3 separate regions of the Homo sapiens genome follow, and all the other regions are linked to region 1. The links are contacts of gene promoters, found by promoter capture Hi-C in human tissues and cell types (Jung and others, 2019). All regions are on one chromosome and are shown on one strand. Each heading gives the region's core, a stretch centred on a gene start or on the middle of the fragment in contact. The rest is flanking DNA. Distances are from core to core; before and after follow the strand shown.

Region 1 (3,388 bases), core at 846-3,345:
AAACAAAAAATATAGTTTTAGACACTAGTAGATTGCACACTCATCTAGATTAAGAATTCCAGAGACGCTCAAAATAGAGGACTTATGTCTTTCAGCCTATCTCAGTGCCTGGCAAGAGTAAGTGGCCAATGAATGTGAGATGAATTGAATCAGGCCCCTATAATTTTTTCATAAAGTATGAATATGTACATGTGATTTGGAGCAGACCAAGTAGATATATTCCTGGGTGTGCCTAGAAGCACTGAGAAGCTGTGTATGTGTTAGATGGAGGTCATTGGTGTGAACATACCAAAAATTTAACAGCAGAGAGCTTTCAGGGTATGCCCCAGCTTTTCTTGTGTTTCAACAGCCCCTTGAAATATTAGAAAAGAGAAATAGAGACATAGATGAAGAGAGAGAGAAAATTGATGGAGAAATAACCAGTTAAAAATAAAGTCAAAACTGAGTGTGAAAGTGAGGCTACTAAAACCAGGATAATAGTCATCCATAGAAATAACCTGTGCTTTGGGAGGAATCCTCAGGGCAGGGGTGATCTCCAGGTAAGAACTGATCAAAGGAGATGTTTGTGTTTGGCTAGGTTTTTACTAAAGCCCTTACTCCCTCTAGTGGGAAGACGGAGCTGTGCAGCATCCGTAGCAAGGTGTGTGCTCTTCAGGGCTAAAAGTCCTTTGGAATCAAGATTGTTTCTTGTTTCTTTTTTTTTCTTTTTTCCTTTTTCTCTTTCTTTTCTTTTCTTTCTTTCTTTCTTTCTTTCTTTCTTTCTTTCTTTCTTTCTTTTTCGTTTTTCTCTTTCTTTCTTTTTCTGTTTCTTATCTCCTCAGCTTGAAGGTTGCATCCTCTTTATCTCCTTAAGTAAAGCTGGGAGTTCTGTAGTACTCCAGGAGTGAGGACAATTATGCTTAAGAAACTTTGGTTTCAGTTTAGTCCCAGACCAAGAGGAAAACATTTCAAAATTTTAAAGTAAATCCTAAAAGTGTAATTTACACCAGAGCGATTGACCTGGCATTTATGTAGACTGAAGCTTGAGAAGTAATTCAAGTGGTTTCCACTCATTCCCTTGGAAGAGTCCTTAGAATGTACTTCCATTGGTCTGAAAAACGCCTGAAAAAGAGTCCTGATGCTAACAGTAATGGAAATAGGAGGGCTGGTGGTTCACGATCAGCCCAGTGGTATCCTCTATTCTATTTGCATCTAGGTAAAGAGACTGTGGCCTGTATGTGATCAAACAATTTGTTGAAGCGCTTTGGGCTTAGGGCATTTAATTTCTGTGAAGTAGGACCATCAGTTGTTTGCTCTGTTTTTGTGTCACCTCTCAGAATACATTAAAGTAGGGGCAACCCTTGAGCCCAGACTTCTGCCATGTGAAGACCCTTTGAAAATCCTGACAAACACAGGTACTGCGTAAGTGGTCAGCTAATTAAAGAGGGGAGGTGGAGCTGTCCTTTGTGTATCCAATAAGTACCCATTATCTCATTTGAGCATGAAAAGAGGCCACTGTTATTACTTTCAAGAAGGAAAGTAAGCAGGATAGCTCATATTTTTAGAACAATTCCTCACCAAATGGAATAATTCCGGTGAAAAGTGGGAGTGAGGAAGAAAGAAAAAAAAAACTTCTAATCATAATGTTTGGGAATAAGAAAGGAAGAAGAAACTCACGTCAAAGCCGACTTTCTCCTGCAGCTGTAAAATAAACTCTTAAGACCCTTCCTGCTGAAACTCTGGAGAGGAAAACTGGAGTGGCGGGTGGGCTTTGCCTGCAGCTCAACTCTCCCTCGCGGCGCGGGCGCGGCTGGGTTCAGCACCTCGGAAAGCGCCCCTCGCGGCGCCCCGGGATTACGCATGCTCCTTGGGGCCCGCCGCCTTGGCCGTGCAAGTGCCACCGTAACTGGTGAGAGCCGCTGGCAACCCACCCGGAGTTGACAACCGCGGAGAGACGCAGACACCCACTGACCTCCAGGAAGCTGAGCGTGGTGGATGGAACTCTACGATCTCTTTCTCTCCAAGGACGGAAACCTCATCCAAGCAGTCCCAGAGGAAACGGATAAAGGTATTTGAAAGGGAGCGAGCGGCCCCAAATCGCACAATTGAGCGGCTGGGGGAGTTATGCGCCAGTGCCCCAGTGACCGCGGGACACGGAGAGGGGAAGTCTGCGTTGTACATAAGGACCTAGGGACTCCGAGCTTGGCCTGAGAACCCTTGGACGCCGAGTGCTTGCCTTACGGGCTGCACTCCTCAACTCTGCTCCAAAGCAGCCGCTGAGCTCAACTCCTGCGTCCAGGGCGTTCGCTGCGCGCCAGGACGCGCTTAGTACCCAGTTCCTGGGCTCTCTCTTCAGTAGCTGCTTTGAAAGCTCCCACGCACGTCCCGCAGGCTAGCCTGGCAACAAAACTGGGGTAAACCGTGTTATCTTAGGTCTTGTCCCCCAGAACATGACCTAGAGGTACCTGCGCATGCAGATGGCCGATGCAGCCACGATAGCCACCATGAATAAGGCAGCAGGCGGGGACAAGCTAGCAGAACTCTTCAGTCTGGTCCCGGACCTTCTGGAGGCGGCCAACACGAGTGGTAACGCGTCGCTGCAGCTTCCGGACTTGTGGTGGGAGCTGGGGCTGGAGTTGCCGGACGGCGCGCCGCCAGGACATCCCCCGGGCAGCGGCGGGGCAGAGAGCGCGGACACAGAGGCCCGGGTGCGGATTCTCATCAGCGTGGTGTACTGGGTGGTGTGCGCCCTGGGGTTGGCGGGCAACCTGCTGGTTCTCTACCTGATGAAGAGCATGCAGGGCTGGCGCAAGTCCTCTATCAACCTCTTCGTCACCAACCTGGCGCTGACGGACTTTCAGTTTGTGCTCACCCTGCCCTTCTGGGCGGTGGAGAACGCTCTTGACTTCAAATGGCCCTTCGGCAAGGCCATGTGTAAGATCGTGTCCATGGTGACGTCCATGAACATGTACGCCAGCGTGTTCTTCCTCACTGCCATGAGTGTGACGCGCTACCATTCGGTGGCCTCGGCTCTGAAGAGCCACCGGACCCGAGGACACGGCCGGGGCGACTGCTGCGGCCGGAGCCTGGGGGACAGCTGCTGCTTCTCGGCCAAGGCGCTGTGTGTGTGGATCTGGGCTTTGGCCGCGCTGGCCTCGCTGCCCAGTGCCATTTTCTCCACCACGGTCAAGGTGATGGGCGAGGAGCTGTGCCTGGTGCGTTTCCCGGACAAGTTGCTGGGCCGCGACAGGCAGTTCTGGCTGGGCCTCTACCACTCGCAGAAGGTGCTGCTGGGCTTCGTGCTGCCGCTGGGCATCATTATCTTGTGCTACCTGCTGCTGGTGCGCTTCATCGCCGACCGCCGCGCGGCGGGGACCAAAGGAGGGGCCGCGGTAGCCGGAGGACGCCC
Region 2 (3,230 bases), core at 485-2,984, 150 kb before region 1:
ACATCTTCTGGCTGTTCCCACAGCAATTTTTCCACAGTGCTCAGCAGAGGTTCTTCCCTTCCCAGGAGTCTAAGAATCTCCCTAACAGTGAAATCCCAGCTGGCCAAAAATGTGAGTCAGGGTACAGAAATCTGAACCACATCCACATACTCAGGATCACACGGATTCTGTACATCAAAGCATGATTTTCCTCTCTGAGTCATGATTGGGATCTATGAGAACACGGGAGGTTTCATAGGCTGTGGACATTGTGTGAATTCCCTAGGGGACAGAAAGGTCTCTCACACACACTCAGCAAGGAGAGAGCCTGACGGCTGCTGTGTCCCAGGCCCAAGGCCTCAAAGACCCAGAGAACCAGCTGCTGTCCCACCATGGATGTCTATGAAATAGGGACACAAATACAGCTGCCAATGAAACTCCAGCAGCAGATGCTGCCCACACATGGCCTCCCCCAGGGCTGAGAGTGAGCCATCTCCAAGGAGAGGTTGGAGATGGAACAGCCACCATTGTCCATGCCTCACTGCTTAATACACAGTCTGCTTTTAGGGTCTCTAGACCGCTCTCAGGGTCTCTTCTTTATTCTGTCAGAGAAAAGCCAAGGGAGGTTTCTGCACTTCCCTCATTGGTCTCTCTGGAGGAAAGCAGAAGCTAATAACCCTGCCCAAGGAGGAAAATGGCTAGTGGCTGCGTAGAGTACCTCAACAGCAGTCCCAGCAGGTTTAAAAATAAATGATGAATGTGTTAGCAACATCAGTGCTTTGATAGAAACACACACAGCGTTCTTGACAGTCCTTGGCACTTCAGAGCTGTGGCTGGCTTTTCTTTAATTTTGAAATTACTTAGTGTCCCTGACAAATGAACAAACACAGGGGAAAGTCCATTTCCCCACAGTGCTCTCAAGTTCGTTCTTGGCATGGAAGCGCCATGTGGTCTGCAGCCTCTTCTTTCTAAATGGACAGTTCAAGCCTGCCTCTCATGGATTTACTTTGCCTAAGAATACAACAGTGTTGATTGCCAAAGTATCTTAAAGCAAATCCGCTATCTCATGTCATTTCACCCCGAGACTACACTATGAATCCTTAAAATTACGGACCTTTTCAAACATAACCACAATATTATTATCACACCTAACAAGGTTATAGAACAATTCCTGGGTGTTATCTAATAGATTATCAAATTTTGTAGTGCTCTTTAAAAAAAAAGTCTCTTTACAGTTCATCCATTCGAATCAGGTGCGGCCAGAGTCCACACATAGTATTTAGTTGTTTTATCCTTAAGTCTGTTTTCTTTTAGAGCAGTTCCATCTCCCTTTTTTTCCTGCCATTGGCTAATTGCAGAAACCAGTTGATTGTCCTTTAGAATGTCCCACATCTGGCCGGGCGCGGTGGCTCACGCCTGTAATCCCAGCACTTTGGGAGGCCAAGGTGGATGGAACACAAGGTCAAGAGATCAAGACTATCCTGGCCAATGTGGTGAAACCCCGTCTCTACTAAAAATACAAAAATTAGCTGGGCATGGTGGCGCATGCCTGTAGTCCCAGCTATTCGGAAGGCTGAGGCAGAAGAATCGCTTGAACCCAGGAGGCGGAGGTTGCAGACAGCCGAGATCGTGCCACTGCACTCCTCCAGCCTGGGTGACAGAGCAAGACTCCATCTCAAAAAAAAAAAAAAAAGAAAAAAGAAAAAAGAATGTCCCACATATGGATTTGTCTGTTGCTTTCTCCTTTAACCTTTTTCTCCTGTAAATTGGTCAACAGAGCTAAAGGCTTTATTAAAGTGTGTGTGTGTGTACACACACGCACATGTGTGCACATAGAGATTCAGGTATACACACAAACACACATATACTTGACTCTAATCAAACTTCTAGCTTGACATACAAACATATATATATATATATATATATATATATGCATGTTGATATATATATGGCTAAGGTGCAGACATCAGCTACATGTATATGTGTATATGTAAGAATACTGAATAGGTGGTGCTGTGTTCTTCCTGTTGCATCCCACAGGAGAAACCCCTAATGTCTGGTTCTTGCACATTTAGTGATGTTAACATTGGTCAGAGGGTTGCATGGTGATTCCCAGTCCCTCCACTACAGAGCATGCGGTCACACTCTCATGATGAAAGCAATCTAGCCAGATCTAAAACCACTCCAGGAGATGGAGGACAAGGCCTCTGAGCTAAGCTCCACACCTGATTTCTTACCCCACCCAGGTCACAGCTACTCACATGCACAGCAGCATGGCTGGCCAGTACCTCTTGACTCTCAGCAAGAATTAGATGTCTGGTAGTTATTGAGTTGGATGTTCAGGCTTAAAATATAAAAGTCTCCAATGAAAACATCCTGGGCAATATGAGGTACTGGGAATTTTGAGATTCTCAACCTGACCCTGATATTAATATGCTCTGTAATGCTAGGCAAGTCACCTAAACTTTTCTGAATCTCCAACTGTAAAATAAGGGAGTTGGTCTCAATCTCTTTCAGCTCTAAATTCCTGTAAGATATATTTTATTAATCCCTTATACATATATCCTTGCTGTGCCTAGATGCCTTAAAAATTTTTTTTAACAAAAACAAGGACTACTAAATAAAAAAAGAACTAGGAAAAGTGTTTATCCAAGCCAATCAGATTTTTATCACCTGGGAATTAGAAATTTGTACTTCTATGCAGTGACCTATATAATAGGCAGCTAAGCCACTTTAATGGAAATTCTCTAGAGAAAATGTCCATGAATGCTTGTTTCTTTGGTCCCTGAAATTTCTGAGTCTTAGTTGTTAAGTCTGTCTGTGGTTCCTTGAGATACCCCAGATATCCTTCCAAACCACCCAATCAATTCCACTCTTTTTTATTTCCTTTTCTTTTTTTTTTTTTGGCCTTAGGATAGCGAAGTTGGTATCTGTCATTTGATATAAAGGAAGCTTTACTAATACCCATCCTCCAAGCCTAACTCAGATCCTATACTCCTTGAAGACTGTTAGGCTGCATTGACCCTAGTGATGTCTCTTTGTCCATAGGTCCTGGTGGTAATTATCTGTGACATCTTTACATTTATACCTAGTCTTAGCTTAAACGTGCTTTCACACTTTTTTTTTTTTTTTTTTTTGAGATGGAGTCTCACTCTTTCATCCAGGCTGGAATGCAGTGGCACGATCTCGGCTCACTGCAACCTCTGCCTCCCAGGCTCAAGCAATTCTCCTGCCCCAGGCTCCAGAGTAGC
Region 3 (3,336 bases), core at 622-3,121, 210 kb before region 1:
TTACAGCTGGCATTTGCCTTATTGGAGCACGGTTTGAACAGTTGGCCATCTGTGATTGGTTGAAGTGTGGCCACTGTAATAGGCCGAGATTCAGCTATTGTTACTGAAGCTTACTCCTAAGTTAACTTTTGAGTTAACATATTAGATTGCAGTTCAGACTTAAGAATTCAAATATGCAAGTGCAGAGGCTTTCTTGGGCCAAATTCAGCTTGATGTAACAGTACTATCAGAATCATCCTTACATGTGTGTGGTGCCCCGCAGTTTATAAAGTGCCCTCACTCTGAAGCCATGTGAATGCATCCTTTTGGACGGCCAGATCCAGGAATCCGCCTGGGCAGATGAGGCATCTCCTGGGCTTGGATCTAAGCCAGCTGCAGTTTGCCTCCTTCCAGCTCCAGAGGAAACTCCTGGGTGAATCAAATCTCTAGTCGAGTCAGCTCACCGCCTCCAGCAGGCTCTCACAAAGCTTCCTCTCTCTCTCCTCTCACCTCTCCTGGAGGCGCAAGGCAGTTGCCACCTGCCCTATGCTGCTGGACACTGCAGAGACAGGATCACCAAGCGCAAAAGCAAGGCAGGGTTGGCCCAAGCACAATGAACTGTGGCTGCCGCTGGACCTGTGTGTCTGGGTCGAGGTCAAGCCTCACCACCGAGATCTGGCCTGGGTGACGACGCGTGTGTGTCCTCGCATTTCTGAGTGAATTCTCAGTTATTCAAGAGAGGGTCCATTGGGCTCTCGCCTCCTTGTTTCTTCTCCTCCATGGAGGCATTTCATCGCTTTGCAGCTGCCTCTCCGATAGGAGGAAGTTAACATAGCTGTTTTCTGTGAGCAACTCTGCTTTGAAGTTAGAGCAAACCCAAAGCAAATGAAGCATTAGCTTTACAGACTGTCCTGAGGTATCCCTTTCATGGGCATTTTCTGTTTTCCAGACTTTCCAAGGGCTTCAACTGTTGTAAACACATGAATATTAACTCAGTTTAATTCAAAGGTGCTTTTGGCTCTCTTTCCAAGCTTATTCTCTTTATTGTCACACTGGCCTTCGTTTAATTCCTCAAAGAAGCCAAGCTGTTTATGCTTGAGGCTTGTATGCATCCTGTTCCCTGGAACACACTCTTTCTTAGATTTTGAACGATTAGCGCTGGTTGATTTGTCCATTTTCAGCCTAAAAGTCCTACAGACCATCCTATCGTCTCCTTTGCCCTCTGGTGCTTCATCCCACTAATTCCGTTCCTGGTATTTATCGGTTTGCCTGTGTTTATGTTTACTTATTTGTAATTATTTATCTGTTTCTTTACCAATGTTCCCATGAGGCAGTAGGCTTACTGAGAGCATGGCACCTGTCACATTCACACTCTACGCTCAGCATCTTTAATGCAAGCCCTCAATAGATACCTGCAGATTGAGCAAAAGCATGAAGATTGCAACCCCTCTTATTTTCTAAGGAAAGGAACAAATATATTAAACAAAAATTGGCTCATACCCTGGAGTGTCCCTGAAATGCACAGGCAACAGTTAAATGACTGTTGGACATCCTCATCTTCCTTCCAGAGCAGCCCTGAGACCATCCTCTTCCCCTAGAAGGAGGCCCAGTCTTTTTCTGTGCTGCTGGATTCTCTGAGGCAGAAGGACATTATCCCACTCGGGATGTTCACTGAAATGAGACATTTCAGCTGAAAATCCACAGCCTACGAGAGAAGTGGAAAGGGGGAGGGGAAGAACAGTGTCAGAGCATTGGACACGAAAGGGATGCTCTGAGCAAAACCTGGAGGAGTTGGCTTCCTTCCAGGACACTGTTGGCTGTGGGATGAGACCTTGGTGGCAGGTGTGACTCCCCTCCTGTCCGAATCAGCCTCTTAACTCTGCCACTTGCCTCCTTCAGACTCGCAAAGCCCTGTTCCTGGTGGCCCTCACCATCCTCTCAGTGTGGCCTCTAGTCATGGGCTGTCACTGGGATCAGCCTGGCCCTGGGCCTCTCTGCCAAGGCCATTTGCCCTTTAAGCCTCACCTCTCCTCAGGGAGGGAAAGACAGTGTTCCTTCTGGCCTCAGGCTCAGGCGACCACCAGCCTCTTCCACAAAACACCTTAGCACCCCAGCCTGAAGAAGGCCAGCTACCCCTGTAGAGAGCTCTGACTGTGTGTAGGAAAGGGGAAGGCCATCAGAACAGTCATGGAGAGAAAAGATTTCTAGAATCAAACGACTAACCAGTAATGTCAGGTATGGTTGAACTCATCATTTCACCTCTCAGTTGTACTAATCTCATTTATAAAGTATATTTCATTACAAAGTAGCATGTATCATATGCATATATGCTTATATAAATGCACATGCATATGTGTATATGTACATGATATATCATATGCATATATGTGTATATAAATGCACATACATATATGTGTATATGTACATGATATGTATACATGTTTGCACATATGTGTAGGAAAACCGATGAGCATCAAATATGAAATATTAACAATATTAGCTTGGTATGATGATGACAGCATACTGATATTTTATATTCTTTATACATGTATGAACCTTCCAAATGTTATATTATACAAACTATTAAAAAGGTAAACTGGGACACAATAACATTTTAGAGTTTATTTGAGTGAATAGCAATTCATGAATCAAGCAGCCCCAAGCCAGAAGTGCTTCAGGGGTTCCATTGGAGAAACATAAAGGATAAGCTTTTATAGAGTGAATGTGGAAGTCATGCAAAGAAAATATTTGATTGGTTACAGGTATAAAGTTGCCATATTTGATCTACCTCACTGGAAAGTCCCTAGTTGCATGATTACAAGTTAGTTGGCTGCATCTTATTGGTTGAGCTTAAATTGTTTCACTCTAATACAAGCATTCACAAGAAATAGCCCAAATTAAGTCTCCTTCCCATTTCCAATGTAAGCAAAGTTAAGGTTATTTTCAAGACCTAACTGGCTTTGTCTGCTCAGGGAGTTTTTGTGGCCTCCATTTTAATTTGCTTTAACAACACATAATTTACATACTTAGAAAGAGTTTAGTAAGAAAATAATTTCCAGACTGCTGACTTCAGAGGGTAGATGTGAGCCCCGGTGGGATGGTACTCTGAAGGGTTCTGAAAAGTCAGAGGCATCACCCGATGCCTCTGGGATGCTGGAGACTGGCAGGTCAGGCAGATCCTACTGGTTGGCAAGTGGCAGAGTGTCCCAAAGTTTCTCTCTAAATAAAGGAAGAGACACTGGCAGTGGCTGAGATTGATAACACCCAATTTCAGGCTTTAGAGCAAGAGGGTTGGAAATCAATTTGTGTGTGGATTATGAATCACTGATACACAGCATGTGGCTTTCCAAATATTAC

What was found. Contacts are between HindIII fragments. The study calls those that stand out against the background at their distance.
Region 2: a contact is called between a fragment that was not itself captured here and the fragment with the promoter of RXFP3 in region 1, in 1 of the 25 tissues and cell types used here (mesenchymal stem cells).
Region 3: a fragment that was not itself captured here is called in contact with the fragment with the promoter of RXFP3 in region 1 in 2 of the 25 tissues and cell types used here (IMR-90 fibroblasts and aorta).

What each region holds. Positions count from the first base shown.
Region 1 is chr5:33,934,291-33,937,678 of GRCh38, forward strand. It overlaps RXFP3 (relaxin family peptide receptor 3), which reads left to right and starts at 2,096. Exons shown (of 1, transcript NM_016568.3): 1 at 2,096-3,388. The coding sequence starts at 2,451. The HindIII fragment of the contact is 8,299 bases long and covers 122-3,388 here.
Region 2 is chr5:33,788,900-33,792,129 of GRCh38, forward strand. All of the region lies in intron 2 of ADAMTS12 (ADAM metallopeptidase with thrombospondin type 1 motif 12), which reads right to left. Among named protein-coding and RNA genes, the nearest start is that of ADAMTS12, 100 kb to the right of the region's middle. RefSeq lists an enhancer at 1-515. The HindIII fragment of the contact is 7,532 bases long and covers 1-3,230 here.
Region 3 is chr5:33,726,592-33,729,927 of GRCh38, forward strand. All of the region lies in intron 3 of ADAMTS12 (ADAM metallopeptidase with thrombospondin type 1 motif 12), which reads right to left. Among named protein-coding and RNA genes, the nearest start is that of ADAMTS12, 160 kb to the right of the region's middle. The HindIII fragment of the contact is 3,802 bases long and covers 1-3,336 here.